Linked DNA regions of Homo sapiens: regions 2, 3, 4 and 5 are each linked to region 1. Evidence: promoter capture Hi-C in 16 types of primary human blood cells and fetal thymus (Javierre and others, 2016). All regions are on one chromosome and are shown on one strand. Each heading gives the region's core, a stretch centred on a gene start or on the middle of the fragment in contact. The rest is flanking DNA. Distances are from core to core; before and after follow the strand shown.

Region 1 (2,700 bases), core at 191-2,690:
TTATAAAGAATAAAGTAATCCTGATAGAAAATGATGGTTTAATACTTAAATTTATTGAGAAAGAGTTTCCTTTTAATACATGAGTAATCATATTTTACTAAATTATTTGCTTCCACACTTTGCATAACTGACCATAGTTGTTTTTAAAGAAAGAATATGCCATTGCAATTTATAGAAATACAGCACAAGCCAAAACATTGTAAAGTCTATATATGTTTTCATTTTTTTCTTCTTGAAGTTTATATGAACAAAAGGAGTTATTATGAACAAAAAGTTATTAAATTTTTTCTTTCCTGAGATGTTGTTAGGCGTACATAGGAAAAAGATTGTATTAATTTATTCACAATTCTAAAAGTCTTTTTTTGTCTTTTTTAGAGTAGAATAGTATACTTTAGAAAATTGTACATGTGAATTTCAGAGAAAATGTTAATATAAAGAATTCTAATTCACTTAAGAAATTTTAAATATTATATGACCTTTTTCTTGTTCTTATAGGAGTGGTTAGAAAAGAAAAATGTGTATTTACATGAAATGCACAGAATAAAAAGAATTGAAAGTGAAAACTTAAGGATCCAAAATGAACAGGTATTCTGACATATAGAAGTAAAAATGTTTTGGATTTTTATTTCAGTAAAATATCCCTGAATATATAACTTTTCTAAATCAGCTTTTTAAATGGCAAAATAACTTGTATATTAAAGAAATGATTTCCGGTTTTACTTCTGTTTTACTTTATACATTTTAGTTTGATATAACTGTTTTACATGAAAACAGATTTTAATTTTGTATATGTATAGGATAGCTTTGTTCCTGCTGATTATGAAGTTATTATTGTTTATGAGCACCTAATTCACTTTTAAAAGTTGATTTCATTTAGAACTTAACCAAGAAGGCCAGGTACTGTGGCTCATGCCTGTAATCCCAGCACTTTGGGAGGCCAAGGCAGATGGGATTCCTTGAGGTCTGGAGTTCGACACCAGCCTGGGCAATGTGGTGAAACCCCATCTCTACTAAAAATACAAAAATTAGCCAGGGATGGTGGTGGGCACCTGTAATCCCAGCTACTCAGGAGGCTGAGGTGGCAGGATCACTTGAACCCGGGAGGCGGAGGTTGCAGTTAGCTGAGATCGTGCCACTGTACTCCAGCCTAGGTGACAGAGACTCTGTCTCAAAAAAAAAAAAAAAGGCACGACAAGATAAAGGATCATTAGACACTAGTTAGCCTTCAATTTTCCTCTTTTCTCTCTTGAATTTTATAAGTATCTTCAAGTCCAACCCCTACCTGAACTCTTGATCTGTATCCTTTCCCATTGAATGGAGGTGAACTTTTGTTCCTGTCTCTTCTGTACTGAGTCTCTTCCTCTAACTCCTGCTTGTAATACGCTCAGTTATTTCTTATCTTCTAAAGTCAAACTTCTGGACAAAAACTCCAGTGTGCTGTTCAATACTAAAAATAGATTTAGAAGAAAAATATTTTCCAAGGTGAACTGCACGATAATGCGTCAGTAGTGAAGGGAGCAGCCCTCCAGGGGGCGTGCCTGTCTATCTGTTAACCACGTTCATAGCAGTATGCTGCTGTGGTCAGTGCCATACCCCTTCTCATTTGATTTTCGTAGCTCTGTGAGGTAGATAGTACTTTGACCTCTAAATTATGTTACCCCAATATTAAGGTTTTATGTCATTTAATATTGAACAATAAAGCAAACATAGAATATTATGGGATTAGATTGAAGGAAGTAAAATAATAACATAACTTGCTATACAGTCTCCAACCTATTTTTCAGTCGAGCACATACTTTCAACATTTGGAATACATTTGTGCAGTAAGAACTTTATGTTTTGATACTATTCAAAATTAAGATTTAAACCAAAAATCTGCATCTTACTGCATGGCTTGGCCAATTTGCCTTACTCTAACTTACTTTATAAGCCCATAACTTTACTGATTTTTTTTTCAAATATTTTATTATGAAAATTTTACTATACCACTTAGCCTATTACAGTTTATTTTGATATAATTTGTTTAGTACACTTTCAAAAATAATAGTTGACATCTTTCTCATTAATAGGTCAATATGTGATAAATGTTTTTAGAAAAGGACGTTTTAAAACCAATGAATAATTCAGATAACATTCTTTGTAAATTATCTAAGCCATTCTAAATAAATTACCTACTTTGAAAGTTAATTTCTAAGTATAATGAATATCAGAGGACTAAAGATAAATGTATATGTGTATATTTATATCTAGCCATATTTGTGTCTATGTATATATACATATATATGTATATCACTCTATTATTTTTTCCACTGTAGAAAAAAGCTGCTAAAAGAGAAGAAGCATTAGCATCATTTGAGGCCTGGAAGGCTATGAAAGAAAAGGAAGCAAAGAAAATAGCTGCCAAAAAGAGGCTTGAAGAAAAAAACAAGAAGAAAACTGAAGAAGAAAATGCTGCAAGAAAAGGAGAAGCACTACAAGTATTCAGAACTTTGCACATCTTAATTATTTTAAAACATTTGAAATCCAAATTAATGATTAACCATATTTTTATTTATTTTCAAATATTCACAGTAAGAAAATTATTCTGAACTTTTTCAGGCTTTTGAAAAATGGAAAGAGAAAAAGATGGAATATCTTAAAGAGAAAAATAGAAAGGAGAGAGAATATGAAAGAGCAAAGAAACAGAAAGAGGAGGAAACT
Region 2 (2,700 bases), core at 45-2,544, 520 kb after region 1:
AGTCTTATTTACCCTTAATTTTCTAAATTTAGATGATAAATTTCAATCAGCTGTAGAAAAGCACTTTGCTGAAACCTCTCAAGACATAAAACCTGCAGTTTTATTGAAAGATGTAAACAGCAATGTACGGTGTGGTCCAAATGAACTGTTAACTTGGGGAAGAGGGTATGCTTGTGTCTACACCCCCTCAGGTCCTCTTTGGATTCCAGCATGACGCATCAAACCACACCATGGCATGGCTAGGAACCAAGCCGGTACCAGAAATGAAGGAACTGACCCTACAGGACCTGCATCCCCGGAGGATGCGGCTTCCTCAAACAACACAGGCCCCAGACATTATACTGAAGAAGACAAGTCAGAAGACTGAGCAAATCCTGCTCCGGGAACAGGCACCATTCACTCCAGATAATGTATTCCTTTTTTATTCTCTCCCTGTGCCTGCTACCTATACCTGCTACACTCAATTAAGCTCATCTTCTAAACCTGCCATTTTTCAGCCCTGTTATCTGGGCAGACACTTCCTTCCCAGCTTCTAACAATGAGACTGCTTGGCTGGAAGGGGTTAACTTATCCCCAGTGAGGTTCCTTAGTAACAGCACACATCAAACTGAAGCGCCAAGCAATGCTGCAGGTCGTTCCTTGATTGGAAAAGAATGTTGCTAATTTTACTCATGACTGTCTTATGTTATTTGCTAATTCTAGGATGCAATGCCAGAATAAGAGCAATGACTGCCTCGCCCCACAGACCTGTTGTTGCACATATCTGCATGCTTCAATCAACAGAACCTGATGCAAAAAAAAAACAGGGAAGAGGGAGATGTGGGAGTTCGGTCAAGCTGGTGGGAAAAATTTTAAGATGAAGTTATAGGATATAGACACAAACCTTCTTGGAAGGCTGGAAGGTTTTGCAAAAGTCTCAGGATAGGGTTATGGCTGAAAGCAGCCTAATCCTTACCTAGAGTTAATAGCTTGGGGTGCAGATACAAAGGAATGTAGAGTAGTTCATCTAAATAGCTTGTTTACTCATGTGGTCCTAAAATCAACCTTTGATCATTCACAGGCAGAATGGCCCTCTCCTGGGTGGGGGCGACCAGGTTAATTACCCACAGGTGTGTTCACTCAAAGCCTTTGTCAATTAAATCTGTAGTAAATAAATGGTTGCCAGCTTGGAGGGGCTGCAAACTCTCTTTGGCTGCCAGTGCTGGCAGCCCCCTGGCCCACTCTTTCACTGAACATTGGTGTCTGAGTACGTATCTCATCCGTTATGCAGCTGGGGTCTGCAGGACAGATCCCTGCAGTCATGGTGTATGATCCTTTTAATGTGCTGTTGAATTTACTTTGCTAGTATTTTGTTTACAAATTTTGCATCAGTATCCATCAAGGATATTGTACTGTAGTTTTCTTGGTGTCTTTTGATGGTTTTGGTACAAGGGTAACGTTGGCCTCATAAAATTAGTTTGGATTCCCTCCTCTTTAATTCTTCCAGATAATCTGAGGATTGATGTTAATTATTTTTCTTTACAACTTCTTCTTCTTTTTTTTTTTTTTTTGAGACGCAGTCTTGCTGTGTCACCCAGGCTGGAGTGCAGTGGTGCGATCTTGGCTCACTGCAAGTTCTGCCTCCCGGGTTCATGCCATTCTCCTGCCTCAGCCTCCCAAGTAGCTGGGACTACAGTTGCCCACCACCACGCCCAGCCAATTTTTTGTATTTTTAGAAGAGACAAGGTTTCACCATGTTAATCAGGATGGTCTCGATCTCCTGATCTCCTGATCCGCCCACCTTGGCCTCCGAAAGTGCTGGGATTATAGGCGTGAGCCACCATGCCCGGCCTGTTTACAACTTTTTTAAGGCAGAGTATCACTCTGTCACCCAGGTTGGAGTACAGTGGCATGATCACAACTCACTGTAGCCTCAACCTATCAAGCTCAAGCTATCCTCCCACCTCAGCCTCCCAAGTAGCTAGGATCACAGGGACAGGTGCCACCACACCTGGCTAATTTTTAAATTATTTTTTTGTAGAGATGGAGGTCTCACCATATAGCTCAGGCTGCTCTCAAATTGCTTTGCTCAAGTGATCCTCCCACCTCAGACTCTCAAAGTTCTTGGATTGTAGACATGAGCCACCATGCCCAGCCCTAATTTTTCTTTAAATGTTTAATAGAATCCTTCAGTAAAGCCATCTGGTCCTGGGCTTTTCTTTTTGAGAGGTTTTTGATTACTGTCTCATTCTCCTTACTAGTTATAGGTCTGTTCAGATTTTTAATTTATTCATGACTCACTCTTGGTAGGTTTTGTTTCTATAAATTATCCATTTCTTCTAGTTTGGCCAGTTTGTTAGTGTGTAATTGTTTATAGCAGTTAGTCTTTTGTAATTATTTTTATTTATGTGACATCTGTTGTAGTTTTCCCTCGTTTATTTCTAATTTTAGATAATTGAGTCCCCTTTTTTTCTTAGTCTAGTTACCGGTTTGTCAATTTTCTTGATCTTTCCAAAAACTAAGTCTTGGTTTAACTGATTTGTTTTTTCTTTTCTATCCTCTATTTATTTCTACTTTAGTCTTTATTTTCTTCCTTTTGCTAGCCTTACGTTTTATTTATTTTTCTTGTTCTAGTTCCTGAGGTGTAAGGTTAAGTTGTTGATTTGAGATCCTTTTTTTACTATAAGCATTTACCACTATAAAGTTCCCTTTTAGTACTGA
Region 3 (2,700 bases), core at 21-2,520, 600 kb before region 1:
TAATTTATGTAGTGACTCATACTGGTCCTGTAAAGAGGCCATACCCTGATGAATGTCTAGAAAATGTAACTTTTCTCAGGAGAAATACAAAGAAACAGGTTGAAAGATGGAAAGTTGGAAGTGGAGGAGGATCGAATTATGAAGACTCTTAGTACATTTTAAAAACCTCGGGTTAAGAAATACTGAAAAAATTTTCAAAGCAATTGCTGCCTGTAAGAATTTGCTTCATGAGATGGATACCCAAAAAAGAGAACATTGAGGCTTCAACGCACAGTTGCTGGAAACTGAACACCTCTCGGTGCTTAGTTGGACTTTATCCAAGAATGCTTTAAAACCGATTTTCTACCTTAGTGGTCCCCAATCTTTTGGCACTAGGGACCGGATTCATGGAAGACATTTTTTCCATGGACGGGAGGAGGGAAGTGGGGGAGATGGATGGATTTGGGATGAAAGTCTTTCATCTAAGATCATCAGGAATTAGTTAGATTAGTTAGCTGGAGATTGCTGTTCGGACTTGGGATAGAGAGCTGGACAGTGGGAAAGGTGGAAAGGGCCTTGCCTCCTTGGTAACCGTGAAACTTCTTGTTGAAATCAAGTTAATTCATTGGTGAATTGATGATTCAGGGGTTTGCAGCTGAAGATCTGGTTCAAGAAAGTCCTTGATTAATTAGTAATGTCTTTCATGGTCATGGGTTTAGAGAATGGTGAAGGTTTTAAAATTTGTTTTAATCTTAGCCTTAGATAGTTTTGTAAGTTTCCCAGGAATGCACGTTAAATGAAAGTTAGGTTAGCCCATGACTTTCCCACAAAATATTATAGTATTGTTCAGTGAAAACTAGACTCCACTATGGTTTATTATGGGATGCCTCACAAGACACCTGACTTTGGATGGCACCCCTTATCTCTGCACTTTCACTCCTTTAGAAACTTCCAGTGCTCAGGAAGCTCTTAACTATTGGATTTAGCCTACTCTCCTTTGTGCCAAAACCTAGCTATGCCCTCATATTTACTGATGCTCATTATTTTACCACAGAACATTTGGTATTCTTATCCTTTTGGGAGGCACAGACCCAATATTGGATCCAATAAAATTTGCTTGATACACTCACTTTAGAATAATATCTATGCCAAAGTACATGTGATTTTACATAAAATTTCCAAAGCTTTACCTTAAGACCAGTTGCCGTAATGACACAGGTTATATTATTATAAGATTATTTATATATTTAGGAATATTTATTTATGTGTAAATAGATGGCCATAGCATCTTTATAACAAGTGATCCTAACTAATGAGCCACTTATATGTGCTTGCCGTAATCAGCCCCTTGAAATCTGGAATTAGGTCCTCCAAATAGGCTTTATCCAAGAAAGCTTTAAAACCTATTTTCTACCTCAGTGGTCCCCAAACTTTTTGGCACCAGGGATTGGTTTCATGGAAGACAATTTTTCCACGGACTGGGGTGTGGGGGTGGGGTGAGGAGGATGCGGATGATTTCAGAATGAAGCTGTTCCACCCCAGATCATCAAGCATTAGATTCACATAAGGACTGTGCAAACTAGATCCCTTACATGCACCGTTCCCAGTAGGGTTTGTGCTCCTATGATAATCTAATGCTGCTGCCGATCTGACAGAAGGTGGAGATCAGGTGGTGATGCATGCTCGCAGGCCCCTCACCACCTGCTGTGCAGCCTGGTCGTTAACAGGCCACAGAACAGTACTGGTCCATGGCCCAGGGTTTTGAGACTCCTGTTCTACCTTATATAAAGATGAAAACACGAATTTGATGTTAGATAAGGTTGTTCAGCAGACTTTTTCTGATGAATCTCACTTAAAGCATACATTGACTAAATGGAAATATATCATAAACTTAAAATCATAGGTTATAATTTATTCATCTTCCCATACATTTATCCAATACTTTATTTAATTTCCACTGTGTCTAAAGAACTGGTCTGGGTTTTCTGAGGGATACAGTGGAGAATAAGACGCGTGCTGTCCTGTAAGAAATGTACACAAAAAATGAATATCGTTATGTTTAAGCATTGTATCCTGTAAATAAACATTTTCCTGTAAATAAAAAGAATGTAAAGACTTATACACTGGAGAAATAGATTCTCCCAAGTAGTTCACAAAAGAATGTATTTTTAATTCAATCTTTTTGTGTACATGCTCACACAAATCCTGACTACACATTTCTTATCATACATAGTAAACATATATCTGCAATATGTTTACACACACTTCAGTACACTGTATAGAAAATACTTTGTCTAAGAAACTTTTCAAAAGCTGTACTTTATAAAAGTGTATCCTTAAAAAGCTTTTATTGTTCTAATCCAAGGCTCCTCAACAGTGGCACTATTGACATTTGAGAATGGATAGTGATTTGTTGTGGGGGACCTTCCTCTTCATTGTAGGGTGAGTAGCAGCATGCATGGGCTCTATGCACCAGATGCCAGTGGCATCCCACCAGTATGACAATCCCCAGTATGACAAATGAGGGACAAAATTATCCTCAGTTGAGAATCACTGATCTAAAGTTTACAACTCCTAAGTCTTCCAAGAAATTCTCAGTGATGCTCTTTGTATACAAATATTTTACCTTTTTTGCTCATCCTCAGCTTTACTGCAATTTCCAGAAACGAAAGCACTCCTAAGGAGAACATTTTAAATCTATGTGTACAATTTATGATTTAT
Region 4 (2,700 bases), core at 166-2,665, 560 kb after region 1:
TCTGCATGGTTTCCTCATCCACCTCTTTCTCTGGGTCAGCCCAATCTACCTGAATGGTGTGGCCCCATAGTTGGAATGTTCCTGTAAAAAAAAAATAATAATTTGAAGAGAATTAAAATAAAGAATAAAAGGTAAAGATGTTCAGTAAAACTGTTTCCCCAGAGAAGCAGAAACTCAACTACACATCAATAAATTTGGTTAAGCATTTGTTTCCTATTCACACAAAAATTTTTACTAAAGTAAATAACTAAAACTTACTATGTAATTTCAGAGTCAATAGAACAAATACACTTCAAAGATAGATCTTTATCAGAAGAATTAAGTGTTGCCCTTTGGATTTTTATTAAACAACAATTAACAGCTCAAAGTGTATATATCCAGTAAAAATATCATAAATAGGACTCATTTTACTGGAACAATTTCTTGTCTTTTAGAATCATGTAATTTATTTTACTTCATTACTCAAACAATTCTTTACTCTTCTTTAAGTGACATTAGTATTTTGATAATATTGATCCCTGATGTACTATCATCTCTCCATATTTGTAATAATGTTAATATTGAAAAACAACCTTTCAGTTTACCTGGAATTAGTTTCCTCCTTGCCATAGCAGCAGCTCTGTGAGATTCATATTCCACAAATGCAAAACCACGATTTTTGGTCTTATCAGTTGCACTTGGATAAACAATGACATCTACAACTCCTTCTGTAACTTTCTTCATTTCATCTAAAATTTCTTCTTTCTTCTTTTCCTTGGGAATAGCTCCAATAAATAATCTACAATTATCCAGGCTTACACACACACCAATAAACTTCCCTGGTCGAATTTCATAATTATTAAGAATTCTGATGGCTAATTGGGCTTCTTCTTTTGTAGTGTACATCACAAAAGCATAACCTCGATTTTCACCACTAAATTCCATCATAAGTCGAAATTCATATATCTTCCCAGCTCTTTCAAATACAGGAACTAACTCATCTTCATACATATCACGAGGTATTTTTCCTACAAAAACTTCACAGCCTCTAGGTGGAGGTGGACCTTCCCAACCTGAACGACAAAAATGAAAAGACACATAAATTCTAATTGGATATTTGTACTCACTATTCAATCATATATTCATTCAACAAATTTGCTGTGCTATGTGCCACTCACAATTCTAGGTATTGGTGATACAACAGTGGACAAAATAAAGCCCCTTCCCTTATGAAGCTAATATTCAATAGAGAAGGGAGATAACAAGTGAGTGGTTAAGTGCTACGAAGAAAATCAAGGGAGTGGTCAGGCAAATCTCTGGGTACGTGAGATTTAAGCAGAGACCTGAATAGAATGAGGGAGTGAGCCATGAGGATTATCTGGGAAAAGGGCATTTGGAAAGAAGAAAAAGCAAGCGCTTTTATGTCAGAGCAACATAGATTATGGAAGCCTGTACAGCTAACATGTACGTGAGAAAGGAAGAAAGTGGTAAGTGCTACAGCCATTGAGGTACCCAGAAGCCAGATTTTTATTTTAAGTGTGATAAACTGAAGGGTTTCGGGCAAAGGAATTGTACTGACTATTGGTAGAAAAGTCGAACATTCTATTTACCTGTTTCCATTTGGTTTTCTAGTTTAAACACCACTCACTTACTCACTGCTGTTTCAAATTCCTCCCCAGATGATCTCCTCTTTAACACCTAGAGTAGCACCCTTTTTCCTACTTTCCTAATCCTGACTTCTTTCTCAACCTAGCCCAGCTTCTTTCTCAACTGCTTCTTAGATGAAGAGCAGGGCTGAAAAAATGTAATGGTAAGACATGAATAACATTTATAATTTAACTCTCCTCAACAGTAAAAAAAAAAATGTCTTAAAGCAGTTACAAGGAGAGAGCTATTGTTTGGAATACTTGTGGGGATACACATCTAATCTACATGACGAGGTTAAAGATTAAATTTAAAAGACTGTAAACAAATCCACACCTGGAGGAGGACCGCCAAATTTCCTTTGTCCATTTTCCTGAACCATGTTGTAACCAGTCTTTTCCATCAAAGCAAGTAATGCTGCTTCATTCTGAATACCAGTTCGAACTTTACTGCATCCATTTGTTCCATCTATATTTTCTTCATTCATGGTTGCAGTTCCTAAAATAAAGTTTAATAACACTGGTTAAGTTTACAACAGAATACCAAGAATCTATAAGGCATTTCTTTGGGTTGCAGAAAAACAAAGACAGTTGTGGCTGGCATGTTTGATTAGCCTTCACTGTCCTCTGAGGTTCTGCCCCAAAGCTCTTCCCTACAGTGGAAACTTGGAAACTTCTTTCAATGTCACTGACCAATTATGCAGTACCTTTAGAAGGCCTAAGCTATAAGAAAGGGACACAAACAATGAAAAAGAGAAAGCAACAAAGAATGAAAAAACAAAATTAAGTGAAAGAGAAGAAAAAGGAAAGCAAACAGAGTAACAACAAAATGTAAGCCATCAATGAATATACCTGCCAATCTACATAGCCCAAAATTTAAATCATTTTATCATCTAAGCCAACTGGATTTTCCTGTGGCTTACATTCAACCAATAAATGGCACCCCAACAAACATATTTCCTCTCTTCCAAACTCTCACAACCAGAAATCTGGGTGTTATCCCAGAGTCCTTTGATGCACAGCTCATCAGTCACTAAGACTTGAAGATTTTATCAGATATTTATTTCATTTTTTGAGA
Region 5 (2,700 bases), core at 26-2,525, 570 kb after region 1:
CTGCCACTGCTCTCCCGCCTGGGAGACAGAGCGAGACTCCGTCTCAAAACAAAACAAAAAACAAAACAAAAAAACTCCTTATGATATTTCCTCTTTGATATTTGCCTATATTAGGATTACCACATAACATAAAGGTTACGGGGAATTTATCAAGAATGTAAAGACAGTTAAAGCTTAAAGAACTTAAATATTACCTAAGCTAAATTTACATAGGAGAAAACTGGTGCCCAAATAAATCAAGCAGCTTCGCAATATCTCAGAATATCAACGCCAGGATTAAATGCCGCTGGTTCTGTGGTTTTTCCAGCAGCTCCAAAGAAACATTTTTAAATTAGGGGTTTAAAAACTACCAGATGTTAGGAAACAAAGGCGGTGCCACGACGTGTGCTGCCGTCCGTGTGTCGGGGGAGAGGCGAGCTATCTTCCCTGTGCACCCGCGGCCTCCCACTGCCCACAGCCCAGCACACACGAGGTACTCGGGGAAGAAACAGGGAGACAAAGGCAAAGTAAAGTTCGAGGCTCAGTCCCGGCTAGAACTCCACGCAAACGACTAGGAGCCCGCTAAAGCTCACCCAGCCTGAATTCAATTCTGAAACCAGACTGCTGAATCTCACCCAGCCGTCGGGACGCCCCAGACGGCGTCCAAAGCCTCCAGGGGACGCGCGGACCCTACAACGGCCAGGCAGCGGCCCGGGCCTGCAGCGGTCGTTGGTCGTCGGCGTAAGCGTGTCAGGAAAATAACACGAAATGCAGCACAGGTGGGAAGCGGCCGGAAGGCAGCGGGGGAGAGCGGAAATAAGGCGGAGAGCGCAGGGCGCCGCGGGGCGGAAGAGGCCGCCAGACGCCCCAAAGAGACTGGCCGCTGGGCCCTCACCATGCAGCGCCTGGGTGACGGCGAGGGCGCCTTCTGGCCGGATGCTGCCGGGGCAGGAAGCAGCGTCTCGGACACTTGCCCTCCCACTGCTCGACGGGGCTGGGGAAGGACGAGGGTGAACCCCGCAGCCACCGCCGCCAGCCCCCACTGTGTATTCGGCGTGAGAGTGAGCCGGGCACTATCCAGCCGTTAGCAGTGGTCTGGTAGTGACCCCGTTTCCCCTTTCCCCTCCTCACCCCTTCGGGTCTTCAAATGTTGGTCCTAAATCCCGGGGCCCAACGACCAAAAACCGCCGCCACCGTTTAGGGGACCAGTCGGTCAGAGCGAGGGGGGGTCGTCGCAGGGGGAGGGTAGCCCACCGGGACCGCTCGCGCTGGTCCTCGTGTCTCCACTCGTTTCCCAGCGCGCAGCGCGCGCGGTGGCCTAAGCAGCCCCACGAGGAGTGGTGCCTCATCCAATCAGGGATTAGCTTCGGGGCGGGGCGAGGAGGAGAGAGTGGGGCTAAAGTTTAAATGAGGCTCTTGGGCTAGTCAAAGTGCTTGGAGTGACAGGCATTTCGAGCAATTGGGGTGAAGAGAGCGATTTTTAGGGTGTGGGTGGGCACGGAATAATAAATGAAGGTCCTAGGTGCATTGTTTAGGTGTTTGAAGACGAGGGCTGCAGTGTGAAATTCCGCACTTAAGGGAAAACATAGATGCATCGTAATGGTTCTTTTTCTTGTTTGATGTAGTTTTCTTGTAAACTGCTAGTTTGGCGCAAAACAACCACATATATCCGGTGGACCTTTGAAATTAAGGGCTAGGGGGAGGTGGGTTATAAAGCTAAAAGATGGATTTGCAAATAGGACTAGAAGTATAAAGTATAAGTGGTTTAAATGACAATGACTAAGAAAATGGGTTAGATGAGGAGAACTAGCGATAGGCTTGACGCTACCACTAATCAGCTTGCAGGGACATTTGGCAGAGGCGAACTGCCGAACTGGGTTCTATGCTCTTGTAAAACCAACTTTCACAGATAGGGTTGTTTGGCATTCGGTATGCATAACTTCAGTTTTGCTTCCTTTGAAGACAGCTCGAAATTAAATGCAGACAAGGAAAGAAAAAACCACCTTTAGGAACCAACTATTTATGTATAGATAATATTAGATTCATGGAATATTAGACAATAAAGAACCTAGCTCATGTTGATTCTCTAATTAACAAGGAACTTCATGCCCAGAATATTCACCGAGTAACACAGATCTCCTTATTCCCAACCTCAAGGTGATTTCTTCCACATTAACTCCTAATGTATTTTCTCCATATATTCAAGGAACTAATGAATGTCTACCAATTTAAATTTTGTTAAAGTATATTTTTAATTTTTAAATATACTACAACAGTGAGGAATTAGCAGGGACTTTGGAGCCAGACAGACCCTGTTTAAAGTGGGGATTGTGAGAATAAAATAATATATGATATTACCAAATATTGAGCCAGATGCCAGAAACAATCCTAAGGACTTTTCATATTTTCATTTAATTCTCACAGTAACTTTGGTAAAGTTACTAGCCCTACTTTGCAGACGGGGAAACAGATGCAGAAACCTTAAGTAGTTTGGGCAAAGTCATATAGCAAGTAAGTGGCTCCAGTTTGAAACCTACAGACATAATTGCTATACTATACTGTCTCAAAATACGTCCAGAAACAAGTAGAAAACTTGGCATAGTACTTGATGCACACTGGAAGCTCAACAAATATTTTTTGTAAGCCGTCTGCCCTTTAGTCAATGAATACAAGTGTCATTTTATATAAGATGTATGCATTCAAAATAAAGCAACTAGAAAA

The links. Contacts are between HindIII fragments. The CHiCAGO score rates a contact against its expected background, and 5 or more counts as called.
Region 2: a contact is called between a fragment that was not itself captured here and the fragment with the promoter of MAP9-AS1 in region 1, in 1 of 17 cell types (erythroblasts). The highest score is 5.3, in erythroblasts.
Region 3: a contact is called between a fragment that was not itself captured here and the fragment with the promoter of MAP9-AS1 in region 1, in 2 of 17 cell types (total CD8 T cells and fetal thymus). The highest score is 7.2, in total CD8 T cells.
Region 4: a contact is called between a fragment that was not itself captured here and the fragment with the promoter of MAP9-AS1 in region 1, in 2 of 17 cell types (endothelial precursors and megakaryocytes). The highest score is 9.2, in endothelial precursors.
Region 5: a contact is called between the fragment with the promoter of RBM46 here and the fragment with the promoter of MAP9-AS1 in region 1, in 4 of 17 cell types (megakaryocytes, M2 macrophages, erythroblasts and 1 more). The highest score is 8.9, in megakaryocytes.

What each region holds. Positions count from the first base shown.
Region 1 is chr4:155,352,956-155,355,655 of GRCh38, reverse strand. It overlaps MAP9-AS1 (MAP9 antisense RNA 1), which reads right to left and starts at 1,440. Exons shown (of 3, transcript NR_125937.1): 1 at 1,283-1,440. MAP9 (microtubule associated protein 9) reads left to right here. Exons shown (of 14, transcript NM_001039580.2): 10 at 496-585; 11 at 2,316-2,477; 12 at 2,599-2,700. The HindIII fragment of the contact is 4,107 bases long and covers 1-2,700 here.
Region 2 is chr4:154,834,599-154,837,298 of GRCh38, reverse strand. No RefSeq gene overlaps it. Among named protein-coding and RNA genes, the nearest start is that of RBM46, 55 kb to the right of the region's middle. The HindIII fragment of the contact is 7,592 bases long and covers 1-2,700 here.
Region 3 is chr4:155,949,624-155,952,323 of GRCh38, reverse strand. All of the region lies in intron 1 of CTSO (cathepsin O), which reads left to right. Among named protein-coding and RNA genes, the nearest start is that of CTSO, 2.9 kb to the left of the region's middle. The HindIII fragment of the contact is 210 bases long and covers 1,166-1,375 here.
Region 4 is chr4:154,796,163-154,798,862 of GRCh38, reverse strand. RBM46 (RNA binding motif protein 46) reads right to left here. Exons shown (of 5, transcript NM_144979.5): 2 at 1,960-2,121; 3 at 585-1,052; 4 at 1-81. The coding sequence starts at 2,110. Among named protein-coding and RNA genes, the nearest start is that of RBM46, 16 kb to the right of the region's middle. The HindIII fragment of the contact is 3,687 bases long and covers 1-2,700 here.
Region 5 is chr4:154,779,847-154,782,546 of GRCh38, reverse strand. It overlaps RBM46 (RNA binding motif protein 46), which reads right to left and starts at 1,275. Exons shown (of 5, transcript NM_144979.5): 1 at 1,111-1,275. It overlaps LOC105377500 (a long non-coding RNA gene), which reads left to right and starts at 674. Exons shown (of 4, transcript NR_188451.1): 1 at 674-758. The HindIII fragment of the contact is 3,692 bases long and covers 176-2,700 here.